2 separate regions of the Homo sapiens genome follow, and region 1 is linked to region 2. Evidence: promoter capture Hi-C in 16 types of primary human blood cells and fetal thymus (Javierre and others, 2016). All regions are on one chromosome and are shown on one strand. The core of a region is centred on a gene start or on the middle of the fragment in contact, and the rest is flanking DNA. Distances in the headings are between cores, read along the strand shown. Region 1 has its middle 140 kb from the start of MAP3K21. Region 2 holds the start of SLC35F3 (solute carrier family 35 member F3).

Region 1 (6,716 bases), core at 3,188-5,687, 440 kb before region 2:
CTCGAGTGCAGTGGTGCAAAAATCTCGGCTCACTGCAACCTCTGCATCCTGGGTTCAAGTGGTTCTCCTGCCTTAGCCTCCCAAGTAGCTGGGATTATAGGCGCCTGCCACCATGCCTGGCTAATTTTTGTATTTTTAGTAGAGACGAGGTTTCACTCGTCTCTACTAAATTAGATGTCATCTCTATTAAATTAGATGTTGGCCAAGCCAATTTTGAACTCCTGACCTCAAGTGATCCACCCGCCCTGGCCTCCCAAAGTGTTGGGATTACAGGTGTGAGCCACCGTGCCCGGCCGTCTCTCATCTTTTTATTGGTATGTTTAGACTCAGTATTCAGAGGTAGGGTCATCTCATCAAAAACAAGGTGATATAAATAGAGCAGGAATCATGACCCCAAACCTCCAGTGGCTCATTCAAGTAATTAAGGAAGTGATTAATTAGATTCTGAGATGAAAGATAAAACATGAGAAAAATGCTTTGTTACTCTCTGTATTAGTCAGGATTCTCTAGAGAGACAGAACAAATAGGAGATGGATATAGACATAGATTAGATATGGATGTAGATATAGATAGGTAGATGGGAGAGGATTTATTAGGGGAATTGGCTCAAATGATTATTGAGGCTGAGAAGTCCCAGGACAGGTTGTCTGCAAGCTGGAGACCTGGGAATTCTGGTAGTACAGCTCAGTACAAGTCCAAAGGCATCAGAGCCAGGAGTGATGCCATCAGAGCCAGAGGATGATGGTGTAACTCTCATTCCAAGGCCAAAGGCCTGAGAACCCAGGGGTCATTGGTGTAACTCGTGGAGTCCAAAGATCAGAGAGCCTGAAGTTGTCCAAGGACAGGAGAGGGACAATATATCCCAACTCTAGTAGAGAGATTAACCTATTTGCCCTTTCTGTTTTTGTTTTCTGCAGGTCCCCAGTAGACTAGATGGTGCCTGCCCACATTGAGGGTGGATCTTCCCCACTTAGTCCTCTCAGACTCACATGCCGATCTCCTTTGGAAACACCTTCACAGACACACTCAGAAAAAAAACGCTTTACCAGATTTCTAGGTATTCCTTATTCCAGTCAAATTAACATCAAAACTTAATCATCACGCTCCCTTATTTTTGTTTTCCTAATTGTTTCATGCATGTAAATAGCTCTAAGAGAGTCCATCAAAACCATGAAATCTCTTCCCTCCCAGAACTGGGTGGCACAGAAAGTGGTGGAGGCTGGTGTCACGATGCAGATGAAATACGGACCCATGTAAATACAGACCTGTAGTCTGCCACTGCTACAGAGGCTCCACTTCGTTGTGGGATGTAAGATGCAGGTGCAGACTGAAATAGGGAAACTCTGAGCCAGAGGAGGAGACAGTGATTTGGGCCTCCATATGCTCTGCGGGATATAGATCCTGAGCTCCACTGACCCCCATTCCAAACTTAGGAGGCTTCCTGCTTTGGCTGCCATTCAGGGACAAATTCATGAAGACTTCCTCATAGCTCTTCCTCCCAAGGCAAATCCATGGACACCCTCCCCTCTGGCTCCCCTCCCAATTGGTGGAGGCTGGGGGAATGGATCTAAAGTAGGAGGGACCTCAAATCTGATAGTTATTCAGGTCTTACTGGAGCTTCCAGAGAGCTGGGCCTTGGGATCTTCATTTATAAAATGAGGGGTTTGCACCAGGCAGTCCGTGCCAGCTCAGATTCTGCAAACATGATTTCCTTTACCTATTTATTTCTAAAGTAATGCGTGGGCCTGCACGATGGCTCACGTCTGTAATCCCAGCACTTTGGGAGACCAAGTAGGAGGATCACTTGAAGTCAGGAGTTCAAGACCAGGCTGGCAAACATGGTGAAACCCTGTCTCTACTAAAAATACAAAGCTAATTGGGTGTGGTGGCATGCACCTGCAGTCCCAGCTACTCAGGAGGCTGAAGCAGGAGAATTGCTTGAACCAAGGAGGCAGAGGTTGCAGTGAGCTGAGATCGTGCCATTGCACTCCAGCTTGGGTAACAGAGGGAGATTCCATCTCATAATAAAATAAAATAATGTGTGCTACTTAAAAAGCCTCAAATAATACAATGTATATAAAATCCCTTCATGTGTTTTGAGCTGTGACAATGCAAATATGAAGAATGAGTAGGGATCATCTGACTGTCTATGACTATGTCTCCATTTGACGGGGACAATTTCCATTTGCACCTGTTGTCTGTCAGTCATTGCTAACAACACTCCTTTTATTCTCAAAATTTCCCAGTTGAAATGATTATTTATATGGACCACACAAGCATGGACAGCCCTGGGTGTGGTGCTACGCCACGGCTGGCTGATGAGAGTAGTTTCCCATAACTATAGAAGACATGGGCAGAGCTTTAGTTAAATAAGAAAAAGAGACTGAATAAGCTGACTGCTATGATGTGTCAAACCCACCAAGGCCTAGAATCCTATGTGATGTCCCCAAAACCCTATGAAAAAAGAGGGGGATTCTAAGACGAGTGAATGCCCAGTTATAACCCTAAGGTAAAGGGAGAAGGAGGGGCATCTGGGGAGTCAGTGGCCCTTCTAAGACTTGTAGACATCAAACGAACGCCACTCTCTGTGGGATTAAAAAAGTGGCAGAGAAATTCACACACACACATACACACACACACACACACACACATACACACACACACACACACACCACACCACACACCATTTCTTGACCCTACCTCCCTCTCCAGTTGTCATTTTATTCCATGCTGTCCCTCATCACCTGGTTTTCTGAAAAATAACCCTGGCCTTATTGTTTCTCCTCTTTTACTTTGGTCAAGCTTCTGTGCCCACTCCTCACTCTCACCAAGATCATTAATGAAGCACTTCAGGTCCTTGTTAGTTGACCTGCCTTCTTGCAGTGCAGGATGCTGATTGCTGTCTTTTTGAAGTCTTCCTTTTCCAACCTCTGTAGTGCTCCTTCTCAGACATCTTTGCTCAATCCTTAGAGTTTGGGTTCCCCAGTGTTCTGCCCTCATCCCATTCAACAATTCTTCCTGCAGCTCTTGTCCACACCAATTCAACTATTACCTACAAACCAGTGAGTTGAAATCCCTATCTCCAGACGTTTCTCATGAGTTCCATGCTTATATACCTGACTACCTTGAGACACATTCCTATAGTTTTTCCCCATGCACCCCACTTCACACGCTTAAACCTGAGATCATCAACTGCCTTCACCATTTCCCAAGCCTATCTTGACTCTTGCATCCCTAATCTTGTGGAATCTCACTGGCATCTACCCCGTTCCCAAGGAAGGTCTATATAAACTATCAACTTTATTTTCCTTTTACTCCTTACATCCAAACAGTCAATAGATGCTGTCAATTTTATGCTTTTGACCTATATCATGCTTCTGCCCTCTTCTCCATCCCCACTTCCCTTCTTCAGGCTTCTATTACTTTCCATCTAAAACACTGCATGGGCAACTTCATTGATCTCCTTGCCTCTAGCTGTGTTCCCTTTTGGTCCAACCCTGTGTACTCTGACATCAGAGCAACCTTTTGAAATCCCAAATCTGATCACTGTTGCCACTTTATTGGAGTTCCTTCCTATGTAGCTCTGTTTTCCTTGGGGTCCTGGAATGATATTGGAGAAGGCATGGATCAGACCAATAGCTATAGGAGAAATGGCACATAAAAGCCAAGGTCTTATCATAGGCTCGGGACATTCTTTATATATTTTTTTTCCTGAACACTGTTTGGATTCGCCCCATTAAGCAGAGCAAACACCAAGATTCTTTTACAATTGGAAAAAGGTCCTAAGAAGGAGACCCTGGGGTTCCAGTTAATTTGACTGTGTGGTGGCTCAAGAAGCTAGTTAGAAAGATATGTGACCTCATTTGTTTTCCTAAACTGATGAAGGGAGCCTACAGTTACATGTGAATAAGGAACTGTAGCAATGAATAAAGAACTGTAGCAGAGAGAAGAGACAACCTGGCACATGCTGGTTGGACTCCAGTCTTCCAGGGTTGGGAGATGCTCCTCCCGTACTGCATTCTAGTGTTTCCCTCTAAACTTCTGGATTCCATCACGTCTCTGCTAAATACACTTCAAAGCTTCCTTCAGGATTAAAGCAAAATTCTTGAGACTAGCACATGACATTGTACTTGGTCTGGCCTCTGCCTTCCTCGCTACTCTGCCAACTGTATCTCTTACTCCAATTAGACAAATCATTTTCAAAAGTGCCACACTTTGGTCTTGCTCCATGTTTTCTCTGCTGGGAACCTCTTTATTCTCTCAGGGCTTCTGTGCCTCATTCCTTCTTTGCTGTTTGGATGAGATTTGTTTATCCCCATCAAACCTCATGCTGACATTTGATCTCCAATATGGTGACCTTGGGAAGTGGAGCCTAGTGGGTGGTGTTTAGGTCATGGAGGGCGGGGAATGAATCCCTCATGAATGGGAGACTGAGGTGGGAAGATCACTTGAGCCCAGGAATTCAGGACCAGCCTGGGCAACATAAGCAAAGTCCCGTCTCTAAAAATAAAATTAAAACAGTTAGCTGGGCATGGTGGCACATGCCTGTAGTCTTAGCTACTCAAGAGGCTGAGGCAGGAAGATCTCTTTGAGAGGTGACAACATGCTAGCAGCCCTCGCTCACTCTCAGCGCCTCCTCGGCCTCGGTGTCCACTCTGGCTGCGCTTGAAGAGCACTTCAGCCCGCCGCTGCACTGTGGGAGCCCCTCTCTGGGCTGGCCGAGGCCGAATTTGGCTCCCTCTGCTTGCCCGGAGGTATGGAGGGAGAGGCCCGGGCGGGAACCAGGGCTGTACGTGAAGCTTGTGGCGAGCCCGGGTTCCGGCTGGGTGCAGGCTCAGTGGCCCGCAGTCGGAGCGGCCGGTCGGCGCCGCTGGCCCAGGGCAGTGAGGGGCTTAGCACCCAGGCAAGCAGCTTCGGAGGGTGCGCCAGTTCCCCCAGCACTGTCAGCCCGCCTGCGCCATGCTCGAATTCTTGCCGGGCCTCAGCCTCTTCCTTGCGGGACAGGGCTCGGGACCTGCAGCCCTCCATGCCTGAGCCTGCCGCTGCCCCTGCCCTGGCCTTGGCCCCCCGCCCACCATCTTCTTGCATGCTGTGGAAGCTTTGTTCTTTCCCTCTTTGCAATAAATCTTGCTTCTGCTCACTCTTTGGGTCCGCACTGCGTTTATGAGCTGTAACACTCACTGCGAAGGTCTGCAGCTTCACTCCTGAAGCCAGTGAGACCACGAACCCACCAGAAAGAAGAAACTCCAGACACGTCTGAACATCTGAAGGAACAAACTCTGGACACAGCATCTTTAAGAACTGTAACACTCACTGCGAGGGTCCGCGGCTTCATTCTTGAAGTCAGCGAGACCAAGAACCTACCAATTCCGGAAACATCTTGAGCCCAGAAGCTCTGGGTTGCATGGAGCTATGATTATGCCACTGCACTCCAGCCAGGGTGATTGCGTCAGATTCCATCTCTTAAAAAAAAAATGTCATGGAGGTTATGCAAGACAATGTCAAGGTCAAGGAACCATATTTTGTCACCGAAAATTCATTATCTCCTTCAACAGAAATATTTACATTGTAGCCCAGTGTATGGCTAAATTCCCTTTCCCAGTGTCCTTTGCAATTAGGTGTGTCATGTGACTGGTTTTCAATAGGTTGTGCACAGAAGATACATTTCTGCACCAAGGATTTTAAACAGTGGGTATGATACACCCTTAATTACTCTTCCTTTTTTTCCCAGCTAAGTGCAGAAAATGCCAAGACCCTAGGGGATGGTGGAATGACAAGATTGTAGGAGCTATCTGCCATCCAGAACACATATCTTGAACTGTTGTGGGAGCAAGAAACAAACATCTGTTGTATTAGCAACATGGTACATTATGTAGCCTATTAGTTATAGCATCTTGATCTACTCTAGATAATGTAGAAAGCTATTTAAAGTTGTTGTTGATGATAAAATGGTAGTAAGAATTGGTTGGCAGGGGTGAGACTGATAGAGGATATGGCAATAGTTTGAGATGGCTGAATCCACAAGACTGATTTAAGTGACTTCATGCAGAGGGTGAAGGAGAAGGAAAAGGTGATGAGGACTCTAAGGTTTTGCATGGGTGATTGGTGATATCATTCACTAAGGAAGGGATTCCATCAAGGAGGGTGGGAGACAGGGAACAGAAGGTGTCAGGGAGTGGGAAAAGGGCAGTCATGATGTGGTTGAGGTTGAGGTGTCAGTAGAAAATCTATATGGAAAACTCTGGTTTGCAGGTGAACGTTTATATGTGGAGGTCAGGCCAATGGGGTCTAAGCTGAAACCCAGGTGTTGATGAGGTAACGACATATAGATGATAATGGTAACAGTTGGAGCATCCAAGGAGACTTAGTGGGCCAGAAGCAGACCAACGGCTGACTATGAAGGAAAATCAACATTCTAAGAGGGGAGAGCCTTAAAATACCTAGACATAAGCCTGAAAAGGCCCATGTGACAAAAGACCAGAAAAATTCACATAAAGTTGAGACATACAAGTCTTAAATAAATGGAGACATTTATCATGTTTGTAAATTGGGATATCAAGATTGCAAAGAGATCGATTCTCCTAAAGTGATGTATAAAATCAATGCAAGCATAATACAAATTATAACATGACTTTTTCGAGGAATTTGGCGAAGCCATTCTAAAATCCATGTAAGACAGTAAGTATGTAAGAGAGGCCAAGACAATTTTCAAAACA
Region 2 (6,644 bases), core at 3,083-5,582:
ATAAATAGGATTGCATCACACTGAAAAGTTTCTGCCCACCAAAGGAAATAATCAACAGAGTGAAGAGACAACATAAGGAATGAGGGAAGATGCTTGTAAACCATATATCTGATAAGAGGTTAATCACCAAAATACATAAGGAACACAAAAACTCAGTAGCAACAAAACAAATAACCCAATTAAAAAATGGACAAAGGACAGGAATAGACATTTCTCAAAAGAAGACACACAAATGGCCAAAAGGTATATGAAAAAATGCTCAATGTCAGTAATTATAAGAGAAATGCAAATTAAAATGACAACGAAATATCACCTTACACCTTTTAAAATGGCTTTCTTCAAAAAGACAAAAGAAAACAAGTATTGGTGAGGCTATGGAGAGAAGGGAACTCTTATAAACTGTTGGTGGGAATGTAAATTAATACAGCCATTATGGGAAAATGTATGCAGGTAACTGAGAAAACTAAAAATAGAACTACCATATGATCCAGCAAACCAATTTCTGGGAATATATCCACAGGAAATGAAATCAGTATATCAAAGAGATATCTGCACTCCTATGTTTATTGCAGCACTGTTCACAATAGTCAAGTTATGAAATCATCCTAAGTGTCAATTGATGGATGAATAGATAAATAAAATATTATATATACACATATATTTATACACACACATGCAATGAAATACTCTTCAGCCTCAAAAAGAAAAGACAATCCCGTCATTTGCAATAACATGGATAAGCCTGAAGGACATTGTGCTAAGTAAAGTAAGCCAGGTATGGAAAGACAAATACCACATGATCTCACTTACAAGTGGAACATTTTAAAAAGTTGAACTCATAGAAGCGGAGAGCAGAATGGTGATTGCTAGAAGCTGTGACTATGGGGAGGAATGGGAAGATGTTGGTCAAAGTGTGCAAGGTTTCAGTTAGACAGGGTGAATAAGATCTAGGGTTCTAACATACAGCGTGGTGAGTATAGTTAACAATAATGTATGTATACTTGAAAACTGCTCACAGAGTAAATCTTACATGTTCTCCTAAAAAATGTTAAGTATTTGGTGTGTCAGATATGATAATTAGTTTGATTTAATCATTTTACAGTGTATCCATATATCAAAACATCATGTTTTACACTGTAAGCATATATAATTTCTATTTGTCACTTAACCTTAATAAAACTGGAAAATATTTTAGAAGAACATAGTGACATAGAAAAGCAGCATAATGAAGTTTTTAAAATAGACTTTTTTTAAAGAACGATTTCAGGTTCACAGCAAATTTGAGGAGAAAGTACAGAAAGTTTTTAAATACCTTCCCCCTGTCACACACCCACAGCTTCTCTCCACCCACGTCAACATCCTGCACCAGTGGTACATTCGTTACAAATAATGAGCCAACATTGACACATCACTATCACCCAAAGTCTATAGTTTACATTGGGGTTAACTCTTAGGGTTGTGCATCCACTGAGTTTTGACATATGTATAATGATATATATCTACCATTACAGTACTATACAAAATCAACCCACTGCCCTAAAAATCCTCTGTGTTCTGCCTGTTCATCCCATCCTCTCCCCAACCATTGGGAACCAGTGATCTTTAAACTATCTCCATAGTTTTGCCTCTCTCAGACCGGTTTCTTTCACTTAGCAATATGTTTTCAATTTCCTTCATGTCTTTTTGCAGCTTGATAGCTCATTTTATCACTGAACGGAATATTCTTTTGTATGGATGTACCACAGTATGTTTATTCATTCAGCTACTGAAGGACATCTTGGCAATCATGAAAAAAGTTCCTATAAACATTTGTGTGCAGATTTTTGTGGGGACTTAAGTTTTGAACTCATCCAGGTAAATATCAAGGAGCATGACTGATGGGTTGCATGGTAACAGTATGATTAATTTTGTAAGGAACTCAAACTGTCTACCAAAGTGCTGTACCATTTTGCATTCCCACCAGCAATGAATGAGAGACTTCTTGCTGTTCCACATCCTGCCAGCATTTGATGTTGTCAGCGTTTGGGATTTTATTCATTCTAGTAGGTGTATAGCAATACATCTTTTTTGTCTTAATTTGGAATTCCCTAATGATGTATGATGTGGAGCATCTTTTCATGTGCTGATTTACCATCTGTATATCATCTCTATTGATATGTTTGTTCAGCTGTTTTGCCAATTTTTTAATTGGGATCATTTTCTTATTGTTGAGTTCTAATTATTCTTATTTTTTATTACAGTTCTTAATCATGTATATGATTTGACATATTTTCTATTGGTCTGTAGCTTTTCTTCCCATTGTTTTAACAGTGTCTTTTGTAGAGCAGAAGTTATTAATCTTAACGAAGTCCAATACCAATTTTTACTTTCATGGATCATGCCTTTGATGTTGTATCTAAAATGTCATTTACAAACCCAAGGTCACCTAGGTTTTCTCCTTTTTATCTTCTAAGAGTTTTATAGTTTTGCATTTTATATTTAGGTCTATGATCTATTTTGAGTTAATTTTTGTGAAAGGTGTAAGGTCTGTATCTATGTATCCAGCTTCTTTTCTTTTTTTCTCTCTTTCTTTCTTTTTTTTTTTTGTGATTGGATGTCTAGTTGTTCTAGCACCATTTGTTGAAAAGGTGATCTTTTCTCCATTAGATTTCTTTTGCTCCTTTGTCAAAGATCACTTGACTCTATGTGTGGGTCTATCTTGGCCTCTCTATTCTGTTCCATTAATCTATTTGTCTGCTCTTTCACCAATACCACACTGTCTTGATTACTGTAACTATAGTAAGTCTTGAAGTTGGGCAATATCAGTCCTCAGACTTTGTTCTTCTCCTTTAATATTGTGTTGGCTATTATGGGTCTTTTGCCTTTTCATATAAACTTGAGAATCAGTTTGTGATATTCACAAAATAACCTCCTGGGATTCTGATTGGAATTACTTTGAATCTATAGATGAAGTTGGGAAGAACTGACATCTTAACAATATTAAATTTTTCCATCCATGAACATAAAATATCTCTCTATTTATTTAGTTCTTTGATTTCTTTCATCACAGTTTTGTAGTTTTTCTCATATAGATATTGTACATATTTATTAGATTTGTACCTAAATATTTCATTTGAGTGGTGTGCTAATATAAATAGTATTGTGGTTTTAATTTCAAATTCCCATTGTTCGTTGCTAGTATATAGAAAAGCAGTTGACTTTTGTACATTAATTTTGTATCCTTCAATCTTACCATAATTGCTTATTAGTAACAGGAGAGTTTTTTTGTCAATTGAAATTTTTCTACATCAACAGTCATGTCAGCTGCAAAGACAGTTTTCTTTTACCTTTTCCTTCACAATACGTATACTTTTAATTTCCTTTTCTTGTCTAATTTCATTAGCTGGGACTTTCAGTATGATGCTGAAAAGGATTGCTGAGTAGAGACATACTTGCCCTGTTCCTTATTTTAACAGGAAAGCTTCTAGTTTCTCACCATTAAGCATGGTGTTAGCTGTACGCTTTTGTAAATGTTCTTTTTCAAGTTGAGAAAGTTCCCCTCTATTCATAGTTTGCTGCTATACAATATGATTTTAATATAAAAAAAGCAGTACATAAAGTAGTGTGTACAATTTCATTCCGATTTTTGTGACAACTGTATTTTGCGTTGGAAAAAAGCCTGGAAGAGAATACGTTCATAATTGAAAGTCGTCATTTTTGGCTGGATAATGGATATTTTCTTCTCCACATACTTCTATCTTTTCTAAATTTGCCCCGATGAAAAATAATATTAGGAAAGGTGATTAGGTAGTCTGAAGAGAATGCCTTTCGGCCGTCGGGGGCAGTGGGGTGGTAAGGAAAAAGATGAGAAGCTTTTAAAATGGAAATCTATGAAGAGAGAACTGATTTCGTAATTGCATCATCAGTGGGAAAGTAAGCTCTCTGAGGACCAGGTCTGACTGAGAGATCCCCACAGCGTAATAGATAATACATTTTGTGTCTCAGCGTTGCCTATGAAACGCCATTTATTCACTTGGCATGCTGAGCATGGAACCAGGTTTCTTTCTTTCCAAGTAGTTTTGCTAATTTAGAGAAAGAGAGAGACAGACATATACATAGAGAGAGAGAGAGAGAGAGAGAGAGAGAGAGAGAGAGAGAGTGTGAGAGAGAGAGAGAAAAGTACTGAACTGGGAGCGGCAGGGTTTGAGTCAAAAGAGAAGGGTGGAGGAGCGCGTCCGGTGCCCCAAGGCTTCCAGGCGGAGCGCGGGCGCGAGGTGCGGGCTCCGGGGCGGAGCGCACGCCCGGGAGGCGGGAAGTGGGCAGCAGCGCCCCCGCCTGGCCCCTGTGCGCCCCGACCCGACGCCTCCCCGCCCGACCAGGTGCCTCGAGAGCGCACAGCTGGGAGGGCTCTCCCGGTCGCGGCGAGACTCACGCCTGCGGTGTGCTAGGGCGGCGGCGACGGTGACGGGCGTGGGGCGCGGCGCTGCCTCGGCTGCCGGGTCGTTGCGGCGAGCGCGCGGGCCGGCCTGGAGTCACCGGGCTGAACCGCCGCGCCTGCATCGTGCCGCACGCCGCGGAGGCGCTCGGGTACAGACCGCGCGGGCGCGCACAAAGCGGCCCGGGGCGGCCGGCGCGGCGCAGACCCTCGGTGGGCAGCGCACTCCAGTCTTCCCAGGCTAGCGGCTGCAGGGAGCTCCGGCCCGCGGCCCCTCCGCCTCAAGTCTGGGAGCTGCCGGTCCCACTCTGTCTTTGCCTATGGGGATTCGAGAGTTTCCCAGCGGCGCACCCAGGGGCAAGAGCATTGCCGTGTGAGTAGCGCCCCGGGCGTGGGTGAGCGAGCCGGCGGGCGGGAGGCCGGAGCGCCGGGGTAGCCCTTTGCAGCTGGGACACTGGGCAGTCTGAGGCTCGGGGAAGGGCGGCGCGCGCGGTGGAGCTGCTCGGGAAGTTTCAGTCATTCTTTCCCTCGCCACTCGCCCCAACCCGCACTGCCCCGAGACGCCCAGGATAGGGCACTGGGGACAGCTGCCCGGGGAAGTGGGTGAGTGGCGGCGGGAAGGGAGGAGCGCGGGCTCTGCCGCGGCGCTCGCCCCCGGAGGGCCCCGGCCGCGCTCTTGCTCTCGCCCTGGGATCTGCTCCTCACGAATCCCCTCCTCTCTGTCCATGCTCCCCCTGCCCACCCACCTGCCCGTGGCGCCTGCGACCGCAGTGGCATGAGGAGGTCACCGGACGTCAGCCCCCGGAGACTGTCCGACATCAGCCCCCAGCTCCGGCAGCTCAAGTACTTGGTGGTGGACGAGGCGATTAAGGAGGATCTGAAATGGTCGCGCTCCGTGGAGGATCTCACCAGCGGGCCGGTGGGGCTCACGTCCATCGAGGAGCGGATCCTGCGCATCACTGGCTACTATGGCTACCAGCCCTGGGCAGCGAGCTGCAAAAGTAAGACCCCCTCACGTCATGTTTCCCGTTCACTGGTCCATCTTCTTACCATTGTCACAGCAGCCTCGGGGAGCGCACGCAGTGAGGCGTCCAGCCACCCCCTCCCGCCCTGCCTGCTGATACAGACCCAGGTTTGCAACTTCGAGGAAGAGGCCCGGAGACGGAGTTCTCCTGGACCTCTGAGGCGTTCTGATGCGTTCTCTTACACCCCTTCCTCTCCCACACACAGGATCTCTCTGTATCCTTATCTCTCCACTGCCAAATACGGAGGACACTCCTATGTGGCAGACCGTGGGAAACAGATCAGAAACTCAAAGTATCCCGGACAGTGTGGCTTCCCCGCGGATCTGAAAGTCTCACAGGGCCCTCGGTCAGGTCTCACCAGGCTCAGATGGAGATGCTGACTTACATAGCCAGGATTTTAACTCTTCCTTGCATCTCCTAGCCCTGATGATAGAGGACAATTCTTGGGGTCTTCATTTTGGATGCCGTTCACGCCCTTCTCCCCTGGATTTTATCGGTCTTCAGTAAGGAGGTTCTATAGGGATCATTCTAGATAGTGGTGTTGGTCCCTGCAAGTTGAATGTTTGGTGTCAGGTGGAGAAGCTGAAATGTTTTTCTTTCCGTGGGTCCTAGCTAATGGCTTTGAGGATGCTGTGATCAATTAGACAGACATTATCTTATGTCACCAGGACTAATTTGGTGGACATTTCTTTTTCTCACTTTGCAAGAGAGAGGTTGATTATGATGAAATCCAGATATCTATAAATATAACCATAATTAGGTGGTCTCATCACTGTAGTTTGACATAAGAGATTGCCATTTGCCACCTCAGTCCGTATGAGAAATGGGCCTTGACGTCTTTCATTTGTAATAAAGACTAGATTAATAGCTTGTTGATTTTGAGTTTTTTTCGACCTTTTATTGCTTAAAATTGAAACATTATTTATTGGTCTTTAAGGGGAAAACGGGCGTTTGTAATTTAATCATATTCATCACTAAAAAAAAATGTCTATCTTTAGATTATTCCTAAAACCTGCGAGTCCAAGGCAAAGGTCAGTGGTATGCTAGCAGTTAGCTGGTTAGTTTAAAATTATTTGCAGGAAGAAACAGGATTTGAATGTTTTGTTTTCATGCAACTTGCTTTTAAAAGACTGTGTTTCATTGGGTATAAGCCTTTAAAAAAATTGTCTGTATCTCTTCCAATCTCTTGCCTCTGCTGCTAAAAT

Evidence for each region. The method cuts DNA at HindIII sites, captures the fragments that hold promoters and counts their contacts. A CHiCAGO score of 5 or more calls a contact.
Region 1: a contact is called between a fragment that was not itself captured here and the fragment with the promoter of SLC35F3 in region 2, in 1 of 17 cell types (M0 macrophages). The highest score is 5.1, in M0 macrophages.

The regions. Positions count from the first base shown.
Region 1 is chr1:233,461,270-233,467,985 of GRCh38, forward strand. No RefSeq gene overlaps it. Among named protein-coding and RNA genes, the nearest start is that of MAP3K21, 140 kb to the left of the region's middle. The HindIII fragment of the contact is 720 bases long and covers 4,078-4,797 here.
Region 2 is chr1:233,900,344-233,906,987 of GRCh38, forward strand. SLC35F3 (solute carrier family 35 member F3) reads left to right here and starts at 4,333. Exons shown (of 8, transcript NM_173508.4): 1 at 4,333-4,787; 2 at 5,186-5,415. The coding sequence starts at 4,735. The HindIII fragment of the contact is 5,426 bases long and covers 3,850-6,644 here.